Regions from separate parts of the Homo sapiens genome. Here all the other regions are linked to region 1. The links are contacts of gene promoters, found by promoter capture Hi-C in blood cells and fetal thymus (Javierre and others, 2016). All regions are on one chromosome and are shown on one strand. Each heading gives the region's core, a stretch centred on a gene start or on the middle of the fragment in contact. The rest is flanking DNA. Distances are from core to core; before and after follow the strand shown. Region 1 holds the start of PTBP3 (polypyrimidine tract binding protein 3). Region 2 has its middle 4.2 kb from the start of SUSD1. Region 3 overlaps SUSD1 (sushi domain containing 1).

What was found. The method cuts DNA at HindIII sites, captures the fragments that hold promoters and counts their contacts. A CHiCAGO score of 5 or more calls a contact.
Region 2: a fragment that was not itself captured here is called in contact with the fragment with the promoter of PTBP3 in region 1 in 5 of 17 cell types (megakaryocytes, fetal thymus, erythroblasts and 2 more); the score reaches 19.3 in megakaryocytes.
Region 3: a fragment that was not itself captured here is called in contact with the fragment with the promoter of PTBP3 in region 1 in 1 of 17 cell types (megakaryocytes); the score reaches 8.3 in megakaryocytes.

The regions. Positions count from the first base shown.
Region 1 is chr9:112,332,341-112,336,031 of GRCh38, reverse strand. PTBP3 (polypyrimidine tract binding protein 3) reads left to right here and starts at 2,413. Exons shown (of 14, transcript NM_001163788.4): 1 at 2,413-2,562. RefSeq lists an enhancer at 1,369-2,339 and silencers at 2,089-2,408, 2,559-3,048. The HindIII fragment of the contact is 11,957 bases long and covers 1-3,691 here.
Region 2 is chr9:112,177,641-112,181,344 of GRCh38, reverse strand. No RefSeq gene overlaps it. Among named protein-coding and RNA genes, the nearest start is that of SUSD1, 4.2 kb to the right of the region's middle. RefSeq lists an enhancer at 147-296. The HindIII fragment of the contact is 2,180 bases long and covers 713-2,892 here.
Region 3 is chr9:112,133,207-112,136,497 of GRCh38, reverse strand. All of the region lies in intron 5 of SUSD1 (sushi domain containing 1), which reads left to right. Among named protein-coding and RNA genes, the nearest start is that of SUSD1, 40 kb to the left of the region's middle. The HindIII fragment of the contact is 4,334 bases long and covers 1-3,291 here.

The sequences.
Region 1 (3,691 bases), core at 1,164-3,663:
CAGGGTGGCAGGTGCCTGTAATCCCAGCTACTCCAGAGGCTGAGGCAGGGGAATTGCTTGAGCCTGGGAGGCAGAGGTTGCAGTGAGCCGAGATTGTGCCACTGCACTCCAGCCTGGAGTCTCACTTTGTCACACAGGGTGGAGTGCAGTGGTGTGATCTCGGCTCACTGCAACCTCTGCTTACCGGGTTGAGATTCTCCTGTCTCAACCTCCTGAGTAGCTGGGATTACAGGCGTGCACCACCAAGCCAGACTAATTTTCCTATTTTTAGTAGAGATGGGGGGTTTCACCATGTTGGCCAGGCTGGCTTCGAACTCCTGACCTTAAGTGATCTGCCCGCCTCGGCCTCCCAAAGTGCTGGGATTACAGGTGTGAGCCACCATGCCCAGCTATAATCCAGGATTTTTAGGTGAAAAAAAAAAAAAAAAAAAAGAAAAATGGTAAAGGTCGCTGGGTGCGGTGGCTCACACCTGTAATCCCAGCACTTTGGGAGGCTGAGGTGGGTGGATCACAAGGTCAGGAGTTCGAGACCAGCCTGACCAACATGGTGAAACCCTGTCTCTACTAAAAACACAAAAACTAGCCAGGCGTGGTGGCGGGCGCCTGTAATCGCAGCTACTCAGGAGGCTGAGGCAGGAGAATCACTTGAACTCGGGAGGCAGAGGTTGCAGTGAGCTCAGATTGTGCCACTGCACTCCAGCCTGGGAGACAGAGCAAGACTCCGTCTCAAAACAAAAAAACAAAAAAACAAAAAAACAAACAACAAAAAAAAGTAAGGTCCAGAAGGATGCACGCAGAATTGTTACAGTGGTAGTCATGGGCAGGGGGTGGTTTGGGAAGAAAAATATTAATGATAACTTTTCAATATTTTATAGTGCTTGAATTTTCCAAAATGAGCATTTATGCTGATATTACTTGTGTAGCTAAAAAAAGGGTTAAGGAAATTTCATCAACAGAATATATCCCAAATACAGTGATAGAAAGACTGCATCAGCTACTTATCTTGTTGATATTCTACATTTCCATCTGGCAATGTTTACAAATGCAACTTAATATTTAGATTTAATATACAAAACAAAATGTATTTGACATTTTGGAAGGGGACTGAGGTTAGATACAGGACTTTAAGAATTACCTCACCGAATTACTCTACCTATTTGAAAAGTTGTATGTCAAAAATATACATAAACGGACTGAAGAATCCATTCAACAGTGACGGCTGGAACCTGATTTTCTTGTGTATTCATGCAGTGCCCGGCACATAGTAGGTTAATACTGACTGAATGATGAATGAGTCCACAGTTTAGATCTTTTTAGCAGCACCTACTGATCTGAAAGCAGGAAATTAGCAAGGATAGATGTTTGAGGTTCTTGTTAGTTGCTTTTCAAATGACGAAGCCACGGGGAGGAGCCCCGCTCTTTTTTACTCAGTAGGTTAAGAATTTGGCTTAACAGTTTAGGGGGTTACATTTTGGTGATCTGTGAGTTGAAAAAGTACTCAATTTCTCACTAAAAAGGGAAAAAAGCAAGCGTGTTGTCACTCGTTATATTATATATATACTTTTTGCTCAGACCAGAGGGAAGGGCTCTGGTGCAAACGTTTCCTGGTTGTGAAACTGTGAGCAAATCACTCTCTTTGTATATGTATTTTCATCTGAAAAAAGGGAATAATGAGTAAACTTTTAAAAAATGCTGGGAATATAGCCATTCCATGTTTGTACAATGAATTTTTCATATAAATTCAATACTAGACGGTTAGGTCGAAATGCACTCAGATACTTAAATTGTATACAAATTCCAGTCCGGGCAGCCTCTTTCACCTCATTCATCGTCCCAGCCACACCTATGGGGCTGGTGTCGGTCCCAGCGGTCGACTCCAGCGCCGGGCTGCCAGAGGCTGGTCCCTGGACGTGTCATCTACAGCCTCGCGCACCCGGGGCAATTCCACCTCGTTTCTGGGGTCCTTGTGGGACATTCCTTCCTACTCTTGGGAGTCAGGTCCCCATAGCTTTTCCTGCCGGCAGAGGGAGGCATTCAAACCTGGCAGGCCCGGTCTGCGAAGCCGGAAGGCCCGCGGGGCCGCGGGAGGGCGGGCGGGGTGCGCGGCGGAGCGGGAAGCACAAGGCGCGCGCTCCCGCGAACGCAGGAGGGAGGCTGGGGGCGCGCGCGCGCGCCGGGCCGAGGGGCCGAGAGGCGGGGTCTTACAGCGACCGCGGGAAGAGGGCGCCCCAGAGCTGAGCCGGAGGCCGGCTGCCAGCGGGGCGAGGGTGGGCGCGAGCGCAGGGGCGGGCCCCGAGGGAGGGCGGGGACGGTGAGGGGGCGGGGTCGGGCTAGGCGGGGACGCGCTCGCGGGGTGGGGAAGGCGGGGGCGCGGCGGTGGCGGGAGCGTGCCCGGTCCCCGCCCCTGTTCCCACTCTCCTTCCACCTCGGACCGGCCGGGGCTCCGCAGAGCCAAAGCTCGCTTGTCCCCGGAACCGCCCTGCTGCCGCCGCCTGCTTCCTCTGCTCGCGGTTAGCCCGTCAGTCCCTGCTCTGTGCGCGCCTCCATCTGGGCCATGGATGGGTAAGTACTAGGCGGCGCGGCGGCCGCACCGGGTTGCCTTGGCGCCGCTTCCACCCGGCTCTCCGCGGGACGCGTAAGGGCTGGGGAGCAGTGCGCGGCGCCGGCGGCCGGAGGAGCGGCCCCGGCCAAGCCCGACGGCGGGGCTTCCGGGCGTCTCGGTGGGGATCCCGGAATCGCGGAGTTGCCGTCCGCCGCAGGCTCTCCTTTCCCCACGCGGCGCCCCGGACACGTCCGCTGCTTCCTAGCCTTACTCGACACACCCGGGAGCAGAGGAAAGCCCGGTCCGGCCGCGGTGCCGAGGTCCGCCCTCCGCGCCCCGAGTCCGGGGAGCCCAGCTCGGCCTCCCGACACTTCCTCTCAGAAAATGGTGCGCGGCGCTGGGGGAGGCGGAGGCGGCGCGCGGGGCGGGCGTCCTCCTGCCGGGGGAGTTGCTGTTTACCGGCGAGGTGGGGCGAGCGGCCGACGGCGGGTGCACGCGTCGGTACACGTCTGGGCGGCGACCTGGTCGCAAGCCATGGTCCCACGCGGGGTCCCAGGGCCGCCGCGGGACTTGGCCGAGGTCTCCCGACTTGTGCTGTGAGATACGTTAACGCTTTCTCGACACCAGGGGTCTGGACTTAGTGACCATGGACGCTTCCCCCTCACCTTTCTCTCTCCCCAAGAAACTTAATGAATTATCTGCCCGTGTATGTAAAATATGATGTACGAGCGATTTTCGGGGGCATTTCAAATGCTCAAAAATTTAATGGGGGTCCGTGACCAAAATAAAAAGATTTAGAGTCTATGTATATAAACTGTTCTCTGGGGACTCAGGGATATGGGGTGGGACTTGACATATTTTGGTAATTAAAGTAACAACTATGTTAGGATTTTGGTGAATTAATTGAAGGTTGTAGTATCTGTACCTACGGATTAAAAAAAAATCTCCAACTCGGTTTATTCCCATTATGTATTTGAGGTTTTTTTTAGCTTGTTACCTACTTTTGATGACAAGATTTCTGTGAGGTTGTGGAATATATGCAACTTGCTAGAACAGTAAAAGTCGTTCACATGTTGCCATACAGTTGATGATATGCTATTTGAAGATGAAATCTTCCAACAGCTTTTGACCTCATTAGATTTCATTTAT
Region 2 (3,704 bases), core at 553-3,052, 150 kb after region 1:
GATTTGGTCCCCACTGCCTGGCCTGCTTCTCCTTAGGGCTGTGGGTGGCTGATCCTGGGTCCGGAAATGGGCTGTCAGCAGGCTTCCTTTCAGGGTTTGTGGAATAAAAACACCAACAGCTGAGGCTTTTGCAAGTGAGGAAGGTGATGCTGTGTGTGTGTGTGTGTGTGTGTGTGTGTGTGTGTGTGACAGAGACAGAGACTGGGTGACACAGCCTGTCTCACTTGGTGTTGTCTCCACCACCTGAGGTCGGGGGAGGATAGGTGAATACTAAGCCTGCTGCTCCTTGAACTTGTCTGTTGCAGTGTCTGAAGTTTGCTCCCAAATCCAAGTCCAAATCTAAATCTTGCTGCTGCCCCAGCTTCTGCTGGGGGGATCACAGGGTCTCTTGAGTCCATTACAGTGAGGAGAGAGAGCACTATTGTAAAAATAGGGAGTCCAGGACTTGTCCCCTAAGCTGAGCTGTCCCTTTCCACCCATGCTTGTTTTGCTTTTCTGAGAATACTAGCGTTTTGGGTAAATTACACACTGGTTGTAGCACAGCCACGTGCAGCAGACAATAGTGCACTTGTTGCCCAAGGTCTACACACTAACTCCAGGTAGGGTGTTTGATGTATGTGTGTGTCTAAAGGGAGGGAGAGGTATGCTGGAGAAGGCAGAGTAATCCTACTGTTTCTCCAATAGCAGCAAAGTATCTGAGAGTCATTAAGCTTCAAAAAATGAGAAGTTGGCCTTTGTTTGAGTTAGAGACTTCATCAGAAGGGCATTTCTCCAGAGGGACAGGTCCTTCTTATCAGCCTTTACAAATCTGCTTGAGATGATGACTCCATTCTGGGAGGGGTAATGTGGCTTCTTTGAAGGTGGCCTTGGGGTTTTCACAGATGTCGAGTCAGCCAGGGTTAGATGAGGTGGGGGTGGAGCAGACTGTTACAGAGGGACTGTTACTTTGTTTCAAACACACAAGTTTTCAGCCAATATACTTCAAAGGCTTCAAATATTTAAATTATTTCTGTTAATGCAAACTTCAGGCAGTAAGTGCAACCCCAGAGTATATTAAACTCATTACAATTAGATATTCAAGCCATTCCTAAAAAACCCACATATAAACAATTTATTTACAATTTATGGGAGGCTGGGGAGGGAGGATTGCTTTTGCCCAGAAGTTGAAAGTTGCAGTGAGCTGTGATCACGCCACTGCATTCCAGCCTGGGCGACAGAGCAAGACTCTGTCTCTAAATAAATAAATTAAATTAAAAACAAAAATAACAATTTGCAAGCCTGCCAGGAGCTGTCCCAAAGCAGTCTCTGTAATCATTTATGGTCAGGAGTGTGGTAAGCAAGAATGGATTTTTTTCCAGGAGAGTCCCAGGATATTTAGTATCCAATCTCCCTCCTCGATTCTCCTTCTGGCCTTGTAGCCAGATGGGAACCCACTGGACAAACCCCAAACCTCTTCACACTGGAATCCGACACTGAGAAGAGCAGCTTGGGGGAAAATCTCCCTAGAGATACTGAACCAGTGTTCAGAATGAAATTTTTTGCCTGCCCTCTGCCTTCCCATACCCATGGCTCTCCAGAGTCCTCTCAGAGCTCTCCCGAAATCCCATTCACTTATGTCTCAGGAATATTGGGAAAAATGGGGCTTTCCAAGATATCTTTCTTGTAAACCTGATCCCATATAGATTTGCCAGAACCAAAACTAATTTGGAAAGTCCTTAATATTTGCCTATTTGATAAAATAAAAATAAAAATGGGCATAAACGTTTTTTGTCATTGAATTTTTAAAAACGATTTTAAACTTTTTTTTTTTTTTTTTTTTGAGATGGAGTCTTGCTCTGTCACCCAGGCTGGAGTGCAGTGGCGCGATCTCGGCTCACTGCAACCTCTGCCTCCCGGGTTCTCGCCATTCTCCTGCCTCAGCCCCAGAGTAGCTGGGACTACAGGCGCCTGCCACCACGCCTAGCTACTTTTTTATATTTTTAGTAGAGACGGGGTTTCACCGTGTTAGCCAGGATGGTCTCGATCTCCTGACGCCGTGATCCACCTGCCTCGGCCTCCCAAAGTGCTGGGATTACAGGTGTGAGCCACTGCGTCCAGCCAATTTTAAACATTTTTAAGGCTGGGTGTGGTGGCTTATGCCTATAATCCCAGGACTTTGGGAGGCCGAGGTGGGTGGATCATTTGAGGTCAGGAGTTTGAGAACAGCCTGACCAACATGGTGAATCCCCGTCTCTACTAAAAGTACAAAATTAGCTAGGCGTGGTGGCATGTGCCTGGAATCCCAGCTACTTGGGAGGCTGAGGCAGGAGAATCGCTTGAACTCGGGAGGCAGAGGTTGCAGTGAGCCGAGATAATGCCATTGGACTCCAGCTTGGGCAACAAGAGTGAGACTCTGTCTCAAAAACAAACAAACAAACAAACATTTTTAAGTGTACAGTTCAGTGTTAGGTCCATTCACATTGTTGTGCAATCACCACCACTATCCATCCACAGAACTTTTTTCATCTTGCAAAACTGAAAGTCGATACCCACTAAACACTAAGTCTCAGCCAGGCATAGTGGCTCACAACTGCAATCCCAGAACTTTGGGAGGCTGAAGCGGGAGGATCCCTTGAGGCCAATAGTTCAAGACTAGCCTGGGCAACACAGCAAGACCCTGTCTCTACATTTTTTTTAAAAAATTAGCTGGACATGGTGGCATGTGCTTGTAGTCCCAGCTACTTGGGAGGTTGAGGTGGAGGGATCGCTTGAGCTTGGGAGGTCAAGGCTGCAGTGAGCCATGATTGCACCACTGAACTCCACCCTGGGTGACACAGTGAGATCCTCCTGTCTCAAAGAAAGAAGAAGAAGAATGAGGAGGAAATGGAGGAGAGGGAGAAGGAGAAGAAAGCTTCTTTCAAGTTCTTTTTTAGAAAATGCTGGTATATTAACCATGCTCTCTTGAAAGAACATTTTTCTTAAGTCAAATACTTTGTCAGCAATAATCCCACTGTTCCTCCAAACTTAACACTGGTTCAAGATTCTGTTTTAATTCTTGTGACAAATACTGTTGGATGAGGAGATAATTTTTCATTATGTGATCCAATGAACTCACCATTGAGTAAGAAGTATTGTTTTAACCAAAAATATGTATTTGAAATTTAAAAATGAGCCAATGAAAAGAATTGATGAAAGTCAAGCAATCTAATGTGGAATATAGAGTAAGATGGATTGTCCTGAAATATAATTTTCAAAAAGTTGAAAACATGACTTATGCAACTATAAGATGAAAACATATCTAAGATTCTATTCAATTGATTAATGGAGGACTCAGTAAGTTGTTGATCTCAAAGGAGAACTAGCAAGATGTTAAGGTTCAAAGGAAAATCCAACATCAGGAATGATCACATGAATTTGCTAATAGGTGCCAAACTGGTTAACTAGTTAGTATCATATAGGACAAAATGAAATTAGTGGGTTTAACTTATTTATTTTCTGGCAGAAAGGACTGATCACTTATATTTCTCTTGGAAAACATTCATTTTCACTGCTATGGACATAAATCTTTTACATTATCATCAGTTTTCGGCAAGTTAACTTCTAGCCCTCTAGTGCTGCAAAATAGCCTAGTCAATAGGAAGTCCAGCGACGGTGCACCCAGCACCCCACTGAAAGGATACCCAGTAATCTCTTTTGCCCATTTCCAAGTTTTGGACAAATTTTCC
Region 3 (3,291 bases), core at 679-3,178, 200 kb after region 1:
CTTTGGGAGACCAAGAAGGGAAGATTGCTTGAGGCCAGGAGTTCAAGACCAGCCCGGAAAACATAGTGAGACCTTGTCTCTACGAAAACATATAACATTGTCTGGGCATGATGGCACGCGCCTGTAGTCCTAGCTGCTCAGGATGCTGAGGTGGGAGGATCACTTGAACCCAGGAGTTCAAGGTTACAGTGAGCTGTGATCATGCCACTGCACTCCAGCCTGGGCAACAGGGGAAGACCCTGTCTCTACAAAAATTTTCAAAATAAATAAATAAAAATTAAAAAACAATTAAATACATTTTCTGGCACCTCACGATATACTGATCTTTTAACACATTTTTAAAAACTGCATTGACTTACCCGTTGCATGCAACAGCTCTGTTGGGTTACACTTTTGCCAAGTAAATGCCATTAAAATATGTCTCCATATTTGTAAATGGTTGAAGTCATTTGAGTGTGCAGAATGAGTGATGACATTGGTTATAAGGCTGCCAATAGTGGGGACGATGCATGAGCTTTTGGCTCAGAAAGACCCGTGTAAGTTTTATCTGAGCCACTAACTAGTTGTGCAACCACTTCTGAACCTCTCTAAACTCCAGTTTCCTTTTGTGGAAGGGAATAAAATGGTGTTCATCCCTTAGAGCTATTGTGAAGATTTAATCGGATAATGAATAAAGCCCTTGGCCCTGTGCCTAGTGCAGAAAAGGTGTGGCTCAATGTCACGGTCATGAGCAAGTGGGCCATTTTCTAGTGAGGAGTGGCAGGTCTCCTCATCAAAAACATAAGGTCTTTCTGAAACTTCTTACTATAAAATGAGAAGGTCTAAAGTTCTTCAGTTTTTACTTTACCTTATTTATTTATTTTCCATTCAGACATTCTATTTACAACTAGAACATTAGAATGAAGAGTTTTAATGTTATCTTTTGATAAAAAGAAATATTCATATGCAGCTCAAAGCATCAACAAACATTATTGTCACTTCTGCAAATGGAAGATCCTTACAAGAGATCTTGCTAAGCCCTTTTTTTCCCTTAACATTCATGCTTTTACACACCCTATCACCTCCTCTGCAGTTTCTGAAGTGTTCAGATTCCAGTTGTTTCCATATTAGACACTATTTATTGATGATAAGTGTTATATGAAAAGGAAAATGTTCTTTTTCCTCCAAGTGAGCTTTCTGTATGAATACGATCTGAAGAAAATATATTGTTAGTCAAGGCTAAATAAAGTTCATGGAAGAATTTAGAATACAAAATGCATCAAAAAGTAATCTGTTTTTCTTTCTATCGCCTTAAGAGCAAGTAGACTTTTGGGTACTAATGAGCTCATTAGAGCGGTTAATAAACTACGCTTGAGAATGTGCTTCATGGCAAACTATAACCCTCCCATTTTTCTTTTATGCTTGCAATAACATTTTCTTTTCTTTTTTTTTTTTGAGACAGTTTGCTCTTGTTGCCCAGGCTGGAGTGCAATGGCACAAACTTGACTCACTGCAACCTCTGCCTCTTGGGTTCAAGCGATTCTCCTGCCTCAGCCTCCCGAGTAGCTGGGATTACAGGCGCCTGCCTCACACCTGGCTAATTTTTGTATTTTTAGTACAGATGGGATTTCATCACATTGGCCAGCTGGTCTCTAATTCCTGGCCTCAGGTGATCCTCCTGCCTTGGACTCCCAAAATGCTGGGATTACAGGGGTGAGCCACCGTGCCTGGCCACATTTTTTTTTTTTTTAAATAATTTCAACTTTTATTTTAGATTCAGGGGGCACATGTGCAAGTTTGTTACAATGGTATATTGCATAATGCTGAGATTTGGGATATGAATGATCCTGTCACCTATGTAGTGAGCATGGTACCCAACAGTTAGTGTTTCAACCCCCTTCCTCCCTCCTCCCTCTATTTGTCCTCTATGTCTGTCGTTCTCATCTTTATGTCCATGAGTACCCAATATTTAGCTCCCACTTATATGTGAGAACGTGTGGTATTTGATTATCCGTTCATGTGTTAATATGCTTAGGATATTAGAATTTTCTGTTCCTGCATTAATATGCTTAGGATAGTAGAAGTGGCCTCTAGCTGCATCCATGTTGCTGCAAAGGACATGATTTTATTTTTTATGGTTGTGTAGTATTCCATGGTGTACATGTATCACATTTTCTTTATCCAATCCACCACTGATGGGCATCTAGGTTGATTCCATGTCTTTGCTATTGTGAATAGTGCAGCGATGAACATATAAGTGCATGTGTCCTTTTGATTGAATGATTTATTTTCTTTTGGATATATACCAGTAATGGGACTGCTGGATTGAATGGTAGTTCTGTTTTAAGCTCTTTGAGAAATCTCCAAATTACTTTCCACAGTGGCTGAACTAATTTACATTCCCACCGACAGCATATAAGCATTCCCTTTTCTCTGTAGCCTTACCAGCATCTGTTATTTTTTGTCTTTTTAATAATAGCCATTCTGACTGGTGTGAGATGGAATCTCATTGTGGTTTTGATTTGCATTTCTCTGATTAGTGTTGTGGAGCATTTTTTCATATGTTTCTTGATTGCTTGTGTGTCTTCTTTTGAGACATGTCTGTTCATGTCTTTTGCCCACTTTTTAATGGAGTTATTTGTTGTTTGCTTGTTGAATTGTTTAAGTTCCTTGTAGATTCTGGATATTAGACCTTTGTCAGATGCATAGGTTGTAAATATTTTATCCCATTCTGTAGGCTATCAGTTTCCTTTGTTGATAGTTTCTTTTGCTGTACAGAGGCTCCTTAGTTTAATTAGGTCTCACTTGTCACTTTTGTTTTTGTTGCAATTGCTATTGAGGGCTTAATAAAAAACTATTTCCCAAGGCTGATGTCCAGAATGGTGTTTTGCAGTTTTTCTTCCAGCATTCTTACAGTTTGTGGTCTTATATTCAAGTCTTTAATCTATCTTGAATTAATTTTTATGTACGGTAAATGGCAGGGGTCCAGTTTCATTCTTCTGCATATGGCTAGCCAGCTATCCCAGCACCATTTATGTATAGGGAGTCCTTTCCCCTTTGCTTGTTATTGTTTACTTCTTTGCAGAAGATAAGGTGACTGATCAGGTGTGTGGCTTCATTTCTGGGTTCTCTATTCTGTTCCATTGGCCTATTGGCCTATGTACCAGTACCATGCTGTTTTGGTTGCTGTAGCTTTGTAGTATAGTTTGAAGTCTGGTAATGTAATGCCTCTGGCTTTGTTTTTCTTTTTTTCAGACATGAGGTTGCCCAGGGTGGAGTGTGGTGGTGCAGTCATGGCTCACTGCAGCCTCA